Linked DNA regions of Homo sapiens: region 1 is linked to region 2. The links are contacts of gene promoters, found by promoter capture Hi-C in human tissues and cell types (Jung and others, 2019). All regions are on one chromosome and are shown on one strand. The core of a region is centred on a gene start or on the middle of the fragment in contact, and the rest is flanking DNA. Distances in the headings are between cores, read along the strand shown. Region 1 overlaps LOC105374292 (a long non-coding RNA gene). Region 2 holds the start of FAM43A (family with sequence similarity 43 member A).

Region 1 (6,036 bases), core at 1,496-3,995, 130 kb after region 2:
GGATTCAAACCCAGGTTTAGACTACTCCAAAGCTGCCCCGCTTTATGGATTTTGATCTGCCTGCGGTCACTAGCTGGTAAGAGGGAAACTGACTACAAACCCTGAGCATTCTGACTCCTGGCCCGCTGCTTCCCCCTGGGGTAAAGGTCTGAGTGGGTGTCTCTGCCTCTTCCTGCTGCTCCATCTGTCCGGATACACCATCACTTGGCTCCATTAAGTTTTGTTGACTAAAGAAAGAAGTAAGCTTTTAAAGAATTAAAGTTAGTTTTATTTCAACGTTTTATTGAGGATTATCGCCGGGGGGTAGACTTTTAGAGGGTTTTATTAGACTGTGTTAAGTTAGTACTTTAGTTTATAGTTTATACACAGATTGTGAAGATTTAGTATGTGTAAAAGTTTGTCTAAGTTTGGGTGTACGAGTATATTTGGTTATAGTTTGTAGGGATAGGTATTAACCTAGACAGGTGTTATTTTACGTGTAGGAGAAGGCAACTTAGATATAATTGCCAGTGGGAACCTGGGACTGGGGTCAGAAGCTGAGCAAAGAATCCAGCATAAGAATTCTTTACATTATCGGCTTGACTTTTATAACCAGCAGTGAGCTAAAGGCACTTGCCTCTTCCGCCTACTGGGACATAAAACTCAGCCAGGAAAGGCAAAGAACCTCTTAGCACACTACTCCTAATGGGTTATGAGTCTAGCAGATACTGGTGAAGGTGGAACTCTCCAGGACTGTCTTAATCTGTTTTGTGATCTGGATTAGGGAACAAAGCTGCATCCCTGTTCCCTGTCTGAATGAGCAGTTCCCATTTTATAAGCGCAGAATAAACACGGAAAGTGAGTTGTTCCTAGTCTTCCAGTCAACTGAACGTTAGGTGCAGAATCTCCCATACAGCTGGGCAGTCCAAGTCTCTGCCTCAACCCTGCACTTCAGATGGCCCCAGTGTAGGCCTTACTCCAGCTCCAGGTGGGGAAATCCACAGGGTCAGGGGCCATGCCAGCAGCAGCCCCTGCAGCCTCTTCCAGACCATGACACAGACACATGGGATGACAGAATTTCTGGATCAAATGGCTGGGAGCCACCTCTGTGGCCTGAACTAGCCTCTTGCCCAACCTGCAGAGGTCAGGATGTACCTCAGACAGGAGAAGAGGGGCACTGTTTCCAAGTCTGACTGTGGGTCGATCGTGCGTGCTCCTTACCCCGCCTCACACAGAGACTCACACTCCTTCTCTCCCCAGCCCTTTCCCACCAGAGCCAGCAGGAGAATGGAGATTCACTTTCTAAATAAGTTTAACAGAAGGGACTTTGACTTGAGGGCCACTAGGATCAATGGAGGGTAGTGGGGTGCCGCACAGGCTGCAAACAAGAGGATTCAGTGAAATCTACATAATGGATAGTAAGACTCTGCCCCTCTCCCTACCCTGCCAAGGAGCACCTGCAGCCAAGCACGTGCCCCCCGGGAGACTGGGCTCTGCCTCTCTAGAGAAACTGAACAGATGACAAGAACCGACCTTGAGAGACTGGCATCTGGGGGTCCTCTGACGAAGTGTGTGGCTTGTTCTCTGGGCATTCACATGCAATAAGCTGATGTCATCACTCTCTGCCTGAAAATGCCCTCAATTCTCTTGCCAAGCCTCCTCTGTTGCACTCAAAATCACACACCTCCGTGCTGCCCAAAGACCCTTCAGAGTTCTTCTGGAAAGCTTGCTGTCCCCCTCTGCAAGGGAATAATTGCATACTTTACCCTTTCTCCTTAAACCCTGTCACTTTCACCAGGGAACCTTGTCTCATGTCTTTAATAGCAGCCATCAGGGAGAACCAGCCTCGTCGTCCTTCTCCCAGTGCTGGAACCGTCCCTCCATCTGCACCAGCTTCTTCCCTCGGGCTCTGATGGACAAGCAGCCTTCCCCCTGCCCACAGAGACCCCCTCACCTCCCACTCGAAGCCCTCTCCCCTCTCCTCACCCACTCTAGGTTTCAGCTCCACTCTCTCCCTGTCTCCGGTCTTGGTCATTCCTGTAACACACAGTTCCCCATCCTCTCCCATCTCTGACCAGCTTCTGCTGGCTCTGTCCTCTTCACAGTAAAACTTTCCGACCACATTGGCTGCACTCGCCAGGCCCCTTTTCTCACCCCCGTTCACTCTCCTAATCTTACTTATGTAAAGTTCACTCTCCTAAGCTTACTTATGTAAAGCCTCTTCCAGGTTATCCTTTCTGTGTTGTGGCTGCCGACGCTCTAAGACTGAGGTTCATTTCCTTGCCTAGTTGTCTGGTTTTTTTAAACAGTAAGCTCATCATCACCAAGGGGTATTTTTGGGGCATTCCATGTCCCTTGAGTTAAGAGGATTTCCCGGCCAGGCGCCGTGGCTCACGCCTGTAATCCCAGCACTTTGGGAGGCCGAGGTGGGTGGATCATCTGAGGTCAGGAGTTCGAGACCAGCCTGGTCAACATGGTGAAACCCTGTCTCTTCTAAAAATACAAAAATTAGCCTGGCGTGGTGGCAGGCGTCTGTAATCCCAGCTACTCAGGAGGCTGAGGCAGGAGAATCGCTTGAACCCGGGAAGTGGAGGCTGCAGTGAGCCGAGATCGTACCACTGCACTCCAGCCTGGGTGACAGAGCGAGACTCTGTCTCAAAAAAAAAATAACAAAATAAAAATAAAACAAATAAGATTTCCCTGCAGGTGGTTCTGCCTCTCCCATGCCAGATCTTTTGGGTTTTGCTGTTCTGTTCTGGACTGGTTCTGAGAGCGCTGATGCCTGAGAGCTAATGAGACACAGCCTCTCCTGACAGCTCCCACCTGTCCAATCTGGATCTGACAGCTCCTGCCTGTCCAACCTGGATTACTTCTAGATCCCTGACCCGAGATGTAAGATCCAAAACCACCCAGAATGTTTCTTGTTCCCCCCAGATCTCATGCGATGTGTGGAAACAGGACGAGTTTTAATCTGCTCAGCATGCAGGTGTACATGTGGGCCTCACTGTCCTCCACAGAATGCCCCCAGGAAGGGGTGGGAGGATGGATTACAAAATCCAACAGGCAACTATCAGGTAGTACAGCTCCCAGAAGTCTGGTAATCCCTCGTCGACATGTCCTATAATGGAAGTAAAGAATGCGAGAAACCAAAAATCCTGTGGATGGGAAATGGGGATGAAACCATGTCATTAAATAGCATTTTAGGGAAATGTGCTCAAAAATGTGGTTTAGGCTGTGTGGTGGCTCACGCCCGTAAAGGCCGGGTGCGGTGGCTCATGCCTGTAATCCCAGCACTTTGGGAGGCTGAGGCAGGCAGATTGCTGAAGCCCATGAGTTCGAGGCCAGCCTGGGCAACAACAAAACCCCACCTCTACAAAAACCATAAAAATTAGTGGGATATGGGCATGGTGGCACGCGCTGTAGTCCCAGCTACTCAGAAGGCTGAGGTGGGAGAATTGCTTGAGCCTGGTGGGTGAAGACTCATGCAGTGACCTCTGATTGCACCACTGTGCTCTAGCATGGGTGACAATGAGACAATGTCTCAAAAAAAGAAAAAAAGAAAAGAAAAAAAAAAGAAAAACTTGGTTTACAAACAGGTTACATTAGGTGGAATGATTATGTACATTGCTCTTTGCCTTACCTAAGAATGCATTTAAAAAATCACTGTGGCCAATGGTCAGGAGCCTGGGCCAAACTTCCACGGACCAGCTAGCTACATCACCTCTGTAAACTCTGCTTCCTTGTTAGTAAAATAAAGCTATTCATACCCCTTTCATATGCTCAAAGCCAGGACATCAGTTTGTAACTCAGCACCGGAGAGGGCTCCAGTCACTTTTTGAGCTGTGGTCACAGGCTAGACAGGGAGGAGGAGGACAGCTAAGTTTGCTCAGTGTTGAGAGTTTTGGAGAGTCTTGAGTGAGTCCTGTCTGTGCAATGCAAAGGAGAACCATGGAGAGGAGGGGAGGCTGGACCGGGCTTCACCTCACACGGTGCAGGAATGGCCACAAAGTCCTGATGAAGAGCAGCCCCTGCGGGACATCCCTGACAAACAACCCTACAGCTTCTGCTTGAGTCTCCCCAGCATGGGGAACTCACCACCTTCCAAGGCACCTGTAAGTACTATTCTTGCTAGTGATGAGTTGAAACCTGCTATCTTCTCTCCCTCTGGGTTCCCAAGAGGTCAACCTGCCCCCCAAGAAGATTCCACAGTTCTAGAAATATCTGTTTCCAGATGCCCTTCTAAGATAGGAAGTGGTAACCCCACTGGGCTCCCATTCTTTATCCTAAGGGAGAGAATCCTCCCCACATTGTCCAAACAATCAGGGTCAGAAGAGTCACGGAAGAAGAAAAAATGGCAGCCTGGAGGCCTGGAACAGTCTATACTGCAGGGGGCTTGCCAGGGTCAGGGATGGTATCTGTGGTTGAGGGAAGCAGAGGGTGGGGTGGGGTGGGGGACTCAAATGGCCTTTGTAGGGCTGATGCATACAGGGTCCAGGGGCCCACACTCTCTAAGAAATCTGGTCTCGAGCTAAGATGGCTCAAGTTTACCATTTTAATACACCATTGTACAGTGTCTCTGCGTGTGAGTGGGTGCTTTGCTATTGATAGCATGAACATGGCTCCTTCTCACTGTCCCTCGAAGACAGGAGGGACAGTATCACTTTCTCAACCAAGGCCTAACGTGGGGTGGGAAAAAAAAGTTTTATCTCAGAATAGCCTATTACTGTCATCCTCATACTTATTTTTACCTAGAATTCAGAATTAAGAACATTTTTTACTTAAAGAGAGCAATTCACATGTCAGAAATTTTTCCTTAAGAAGGTATTGAAATGTATTGAGTTAAGAATGTATTGGAACGTACTGAGTTAAGAATGTATTGAATTGTACTGAGTTAAGAATGTATTGAAATAGGTACTGAGTTTGGATTTTTTTTTTTTTTGCAAATACTCAATAACACTCGTTAGTAGACAAAAGCATCAGTGGTGTAAGTTTAAAAATACTGGAGTGACTGCTTTGCTGGCTATTCTTTTATAGCTCTTGTAAATGAAGAAATTAAAACTGCAAGTTGAAACTGAGTCACTGATGGCGCCAGATGTTTCTGGAGCAAAACTGGGAAAGAGGGTGAGCATTGGAAAGACACCTCCTCCTGTTATCTTCGAGAAGCCATTTACTGGGAAAACAAAAACTGAGCTCCATGATGCATAAATTCCAAAATGCAGAGGCCAATTTCTTTCCCTTTGACCACATGTCGGAAAGGCTCGGGGTTCAGTAACTGGAGGTGAGTCATGGCCTTTCCTAAACTCGAGTGAATGTGTTGGGAAAGGCGGGTGGTCTTGGGCCTGTGTCAATGTGGGCTTCTTTCCAGGCCATGAGAGCCGCTCTCAGAGTAGCCAAGCAGGGTCCTGCGGGGAGGTCTTGGTGACATACGTGTGCCCATTGGAGGCGTTTGTGTCTATCCTGCGGTGAGCGTGCACAATTAGGCATATGTATGATTGGAAATGCATTTTCGCCATTGCTTTCATGTTTATACATGTACATATGTAGGAATTCATGCAATGACTATTAGATAAGTAGGCTGTGGAGGTCTTGAAAGCAGGGGCTCCAAGTGTGCAAAGTACTCGGTTCTCTACCTGTGGTGGGTCCTTCATAGTTGGTAAACAACAACAACAACAGTTCTGGGGGTGAGGAGTGGAGCAAAAGTTGGTGGAGTCATCTGCATTTAGGCAGAGCCTGGCATGTGCAGCTCCAGCAGCAGGGCCAGGACACGGAAGGCTGGCATGAGAAAGAGGGCTAGCTGTGGGGCTGCAGGTCAGGGGAAAGAGCAGCGCCTGCCCACCCATCAACACACTCCACGGCACAGATGCAGGTGCAGGGCTGTACGGAGGGCAGGTGACACGATCTCAGGTCCTAGCCCCCTGGGGGGAAAGCAGCCCACCTCCTGGGGTGATCTCTGCACTGAGCCCTGAAACCCAGGTCCCTCAGCTTCCTCAGGACCACCCTCTACGAACTTCACTTTGCCCGTCATTCAAGGCCTTGTCCACTTACCCCTCTTGCTTC
Region 2 (5,755 bases), core at 2,975-5,474:
CACGGGCCTCACTGGGCTAAAACCAAGGTGTCTGATAGCCACCTTAAAGAAGCAAAAAGAAATAGGTAAGTTTTTGTTGTTGTTGTTGTTTTTTGAGACAGACTCTCGCTCTGTCGCCCAGGCAGGAGCGCAGTGGCACAATCTCGGCTCACTGCAACTTCTGCCTCCCAGGTTCAAGTGATTCTCCTGCCTCAGCCTCCCGAATAGCTGGTATTATAGGCATGCACCACTATGCCTAGCTAATGTTTGTATTTTTAGTAGAGACGGGGTTTCACCATGTTGACCAGGCTAGAGAAATAGGTAAAATTAATCTGAATAATTTATTTAAATCAACATAGCCAAAATACTATCATTCAATATATAATGAATATAACATTATGAAGATTTTTTGCATTCTTTTTGTTTTACTAAGTCCTGAAAATCCAGTGTGTAGTTCATACTCGTAGTGCGTCTAAATTTGGGCCAGCTATGGTTCAAGTGGCAGCAGCAGCCTGTGGCTGGTGACTGCGTACTGGGCCGCACAGGCTGCAATGCTCTCCCCCATCTCTTTGCAGGTTCATCTCATTCCTGTCTCTGCCCAGAGCCACCTTCCCTGGCCATGCTGTCTAAACCAGCCACCTCTCACTCCTAGCACTGCCTCCTTTTCTCCAGAGACTTTTCACTATCTGCTATTTCATTAGTTTTTTGTTTACTGTCTGCCCTCCTGCCTCCACCAGAGGCTATAAATCCCATGCAGGCAAAGACCTCTCTATCTGTCCTCTTTAGTGCTATATCCCCAGCAACTATGTGACATTCATGGGAGACTCTCCACAAGTATTTACTAGATGACATTGAAGATTCCAGATTCGTCATGTGTCATCTCTGAAGTCAATGTCCACTGAGTAGGATGTTGGAGGAGGGGCGAGAGGAAGGAGCATTATGTAAGACGTAAGGTGGGAGGAAGCTGGTCCAAATCCTCTGTGAGATGAAAGGCTTACTCCTGGATGTCAAGTTTAGGGCTGGGACTCCTGATGGCAGCATTTCCTTCCAACTGCGACCCGGTTGTGTGTAGTTTCAACCACTAGCTTATCTGGTTTGACGAGAAACCATCCACCGAGCAGCATTTCTGCCTGCTACCAGTAGATGGGGGCAGTGTCATTAAAAAAGTACACTGCAGTTTCTAACCTGTTTCCCAGCTCCACTTTGCTGACAGTCTGTTCTGGAGTTGCCCTGTCTCAGATCTGTGATGTGGACTCCCACATGGTGCTGCCAGCTCTCCCAGCTGAAGAAACGCAGCCTTAATTGTGATGTGTGCTTCAGGTGGGGTGGTCAGCTTCTCCATAAGGTGAGGCGGGCCCTAGAGGCTGGCACAGGTCCAGGCCACAAGGGGACCGCGGGTTCTCCTCCAGGGCATGACTCACACCAGGGTGTTCACACTGGCCTAGAACCTTTCTGTTCTCCCAAGGTTGGAAACAAGCTTATTAGGAAGGCGGTCAAGGCGTGACATAGCCTCGTCAACAGGAGCAGCTCTGTGGGCCTGTGCCGCTGGGACTGGCACTCCGGCTGCTGCTGAACAGCCCGGCCCACCAGTAGACTCCTCCCTGCCTCTGTGGGCCACTGGGGTCCATGCCACTGCATGAAGTGCAAAGTGGTGCCTCTCGCTGAGGCTGAGACCAGCCTTAGCTCCTGCTACTACTCCCTCTTCCTCTTCCCCAAACCCTCTTGAGCCTTGGAACTTTGAGCGATTTGGAAATGATCACTGCTTAAACATGATGTCTGCTTTTGTGGAGTTCAAGATTATGGACCTACTAAAGGTCACTGAACACAGCCTCATTTGATATGTTTTTACCAGAGTTTTTGTTCTTTAGAGCGTGTGCTATCTCCTTCATTGCCACTACAAGATAGCCTAGAAATTTAAGGAATTAATGTTGCCTTAAATGGCTTATTATAGTACTAACTACCTCATTCCAACAGCATGTCTGGTATCCCTCCATTAACCCATCAGTGCAGCTGAGGAGTAAGGCATTATAGCTCTGGTTGAAGGACCCTGTGGGGCCAGTTAGCCATGAAGAGGCCATTCCTTCCCTTGGAGTGTAAGAGAGCCAAAAAACACAATCAGGAAGGTTTATTCTTTGATTGTTACAAGCTCCATCTTAATTACTACATGTGTATGCATTTTCTTTCTTTCTTTCTTTCTTTTTTTTTGAGACGGTCTCACTGTGTCATCCAGGCTGGAGTGCAGTGGCGCGATCTCGGCTTACTGCAACCTCCGCCTCCCGGGTTCAAGGGATTCTCCTGCCTCAACTTCCCAAGTAGCTGGAATTACAGGCGTGCACCACCATGCCCAGCTAATTTTTGTATTTTTAGTAGAGATAGAGTTTTGCCATGTTGGCCAGGCTGGTCTTGAACTCCTGACCTCAAGTGATCCACCCGCCTCAGCCTCCCAAAATGCTGGGATTACAGGCGTGAGCCACCGCGCCTGGCCTTATGCATGCATTTTCATGCTTCTGTAATTTTGCTACCCTCTATACCCATAAAGCCCTTCAGTCTTTTCCTATTTGGATAAATTCTGTTTATCTTTCAAAGGTCACCACCTCCATGAAGCCTTTTCTGATTTTCCTAGTCACAATGAATGCTTTCTTCCTCCAGCTTCTCATAGTGCTTTGAGTCTTTCTCATAGCATTTAGCCCACTCTGTCTTCTTGTCCACATGCATATCTTGCTCATTAATTCTAGTTACTGAGTGCCTATTTGTACCATATTGGGGATACAGGGTACTTGCAGAGAACCCACAGTCCAGTGGAAACCCAGAGTTGGGTAGAGTTTACAACCTTCATTGGACTAGGAGGCAGGAATCCCGTCTGCTCCTAGCTCAGGGCCGGGCACCAAAAGGTAGTCAGAAAAGTAACTTAAATGGAAACTCAGCAAAGTAACTTAAATGGAAACTCAGCATCAACGACTCTGAGAAAATTGAGTTAGATTTCAAAGGAAGGTTAAAAGTTGGCAAAGGTAGAGGGTGGGCAGGGGTCAGTTTTATTTTGTTGGAATATCCCAAGGGAATTTCCAGGTATGGTTGCAGTGACTCTGGCATGAAGACCTGGCGTGGAAGCCAGAGACATCAAAGATCCCCAGGGGACTGGGATGGTGGGAAGGGATCACTGTCCTCCTCCAGGACCAGGCTGGGAGTTTGATGCAGGATCATTCGGACATTGATCCCACTCCAGCCATACGTCTTTTTGCTTTGACTGACCATACCATAGAGGCAAGCAGGCTGTTTCAAGGGCCCAGAAATGAGTTACTGGCTAAGGGTCAAGCCGGTCAGAAGACAACTACACTGTCCAGTTGGCACATGATAAAAGCAATACTGATGCAATTATCACTCCCATTGGAGGGTGGCCTGGCATTATTTGTCACTTAAATAAAAAACGTCATTTGAATTTTTACTAGGAATTCTCATCCAAAATATGTCAATGATAGAATGAAACCGCATGACCGGCTTGCCAAAGTAAACTAAGTCCTAACGACACACGAGCATTAGAAATTGTGTGTATCTCAGAAAACTGCTCTACCCTGAGGCCTGACAGCAGGAGGGGGTCTTGCCGGGGTTCGGACGGGGAAAAGCCTTATTCATTGACGGTATTCTACAGTAGTCACCCCAATCATGTTACCACTCACCTCACTTTACACTGTCTGCTGCTTACCTGTGAATACGAGCTCAAGATAGTGAGAGATAAGCCTTGGTGTTTTCTGTGCCTCTCTCTTTTCTTTAATGGAATACAATTCTGAAAATAATATTAAACAGCACCCAGTCATTCTCAGAAAGCCGTCACACAAGGAAGAAACCACTATTTTCCCAAACTTTTTGTACAGGAAATTATAATCTGTAATCTCATCTTCTGCCACCTCCCTCAGAAGTTTCGATCTAGACATACATGTATTCAGTGAGTGGCAATTCAGCCTGGGGGGTGGAGTGTCAGGATTCAAATCTTTTTGCTGCGGGGTAACCCCAGGTCCCAGTGATTTCCATAGACAAAAGAGATGCTGGTAAATTTGGGATGTAATTGGAGGATTGGACCGGTCTCCCCGCTCCCTCGACCAATGGCTGTCACGCGGTCCCTTTAAGAAACCAGGAATCCGCCCGGAGTCGGAGCCCAAAACAGATCCTCTTCTCTGCTCCTCCCCTGTCCCCGCGCGGCGAATGGTTCGCGCCGGCCTATATTTACCCGAGATCTTCCTCCCGGACGGCAAGGATGTGAGGCAGGCGAGCCGGACGCCGCTCGCAGCACCGGAGAGGGCGCACTGCAAAGGCGGGCAGCAGACCGTGGAGAGCCCGGGAGCGGAGCTGGACACCGCCTCGGAGGGAAGAAATGAGGTAGCGGCGGTTCCCGGACCCGGCCATGCCCGTCCCCTGTTCTCGGAGCCCAGCGCCGTCTCGGCCAGGCCAGCCCGGACACTGAGCGGGCCGAGCGCGAGTCCCCGGCGTCCGGCGGAGCGAAGATGCAGTGAGTCCCCGCGGGACTGCTGCGCGGGGCCCGCCGCGGCCAGCCGGACCCAGCATCCGACCGCACTTTGGGCGAGCTGCTGACTTGAGACCAGCCCAAACGGGGGGCTTTCCATCTCCAGCACCCCTCGGAGGTGGGGAGCACCGGCCCCTAGGCACACTCGCTGTAGAGTTTCCGCGGGTTTTGGCCCCAGTCCTGAGGGTTGTGTGTGTTAGGGGACCCACCTCACGTTCGCCGAGGAGTTCCTGCATATTCTTGCACCATCCCGGGTGCTGTTGCTGGGGCTCTCTTTATTTGCACGCGCGCTTCTAGCTTTTTTCCTGACATTTTCCACTCTACGCTCGTTCTTTCTCCCTTGCATTTTGTTGCTTGCCTGAGACTCTTTGCTCTCGCCCTTGCCCAGGCTGGGGTAATTCTGTGTGCGCGCGTGTCTCCCCCGCACCAACCTTTTTTGCACACTCGAAGCTGAATATTTTCTTTTTTAGAGAATTTACCCGCACCTCCTGCGGGGTTCCTAAGCACTCTCTCTGCTCCCCTCCCCCCAACTCCCTACCACAGGGCCGCTCCCAGTAGTTTTATTCTTCGATCTTGCCCGGGCCGAGCCTGGCAGGGGCCGGTGGCTCAGCGGGCCTCGCACCCGGCGCTCCGCCGCCGCCGCCGCCCAGCTGCGCCGGGGCGCCCTCCGGAGATGCTGCCGTGGAAGAAGCACAAGTTCGAGCTGCTGGCCGAGGCGCCGCCGCGGCAGGCGTCCAAGCCCAAGGGCTACGCTGTGAGCCTGCACTACTCGGCGCTCAGCTCGCTGGCGCGGGCGTGCCCCGAAGGCGCGCTTAGCCGGGTGGGCAGCATGTTCCGCTCCAAGCGCAAGAAGCTGCACATCACTAGCGAGGACCCAACTTACACCGTGCTCTACCTGGGCAATGCCACCACCATCCAGGCGCGCGGCGACGGCTGCACCGACCTTGCTGTGGGCAAGATCTGGAGCAAGAGCGAGGCGGGCCGTCAGGGCACCAAGATGAAGCTGACGGTGAGTGCGCAGGGTATCCGCATGGTGCACGCCGAGGAGCGCGCGCTGCGCCGCCCGGGCCACCTCTACCTGCTGCACCGCGTCACCTACTGCGTGGCCGACGCGCGGCTGCCCAAGGTCTTCGCCTGGGTGTACCGGCACGAGCTGAAGCACAAGGCCGTGATGCTGCGCTGCCACGCCGTGCTGGTGTCCAAGCCCGAAAAGGCGCAGGCCATGGCCCTGCTGCTCTACCAGACGTCGGCCAACGCGCT

Evidence for each region. The method cuts DNA at HindIII sites, captures the fragments that hold promoters and counts their contacts. A contact is called where the count stands out against the background at its distance.
Region 1: a contact is called between a fragment that was not itself captured here and the fragment with the promoter of FAM43A in region 2, in 1 of the 25 tissues and cell types used here (H1 embryonic stem cells).

Annotation. Positions count from the first base shown.
Region 1 is chr3:194,816,641-194,822,676 of GRCh38, forward strand. LOC105374292 (a long non-coding RNA gene) reads left to right here. Exons shown (of 6, transcript XR_001741084.2): 4 at 3,921-4,091; 5 at 5,014-5,257. Among named protein-coding and RNA genes, the nearest start is that of LINC01972, 51 kb to the left of the region's middle. The HindIII fragment of the contact is 3,543 bases long and covers 975-4,517 here.
Region 2 is chr3:194,681,659-194,687,413 of GRCh38, forward strand. FAM43A (family with sequence similarity 43 member A) reads left to right here and starts at 4,225. Exons shown (of 1, transcript NM_153690.5): 1 at 4,225-5,755. The coding sequence starts at 5,169. LOC124909474 reads right to left here and starts at 5,251. Exons shown (of 3, transcript XM_047449428.1): 1 at 4,202-5,251; 2 at 3,680-3,760. The coding sequence starts at 4,595. RefSeq lists enhancers at 1,220-1,269, 3,955-4,314, 5,066-5,571, 5,572-5,755 and a silencer at 5,055-5,244. The HindIII fragment of the contact is 10,115 bases long and covers 1-5,755 here.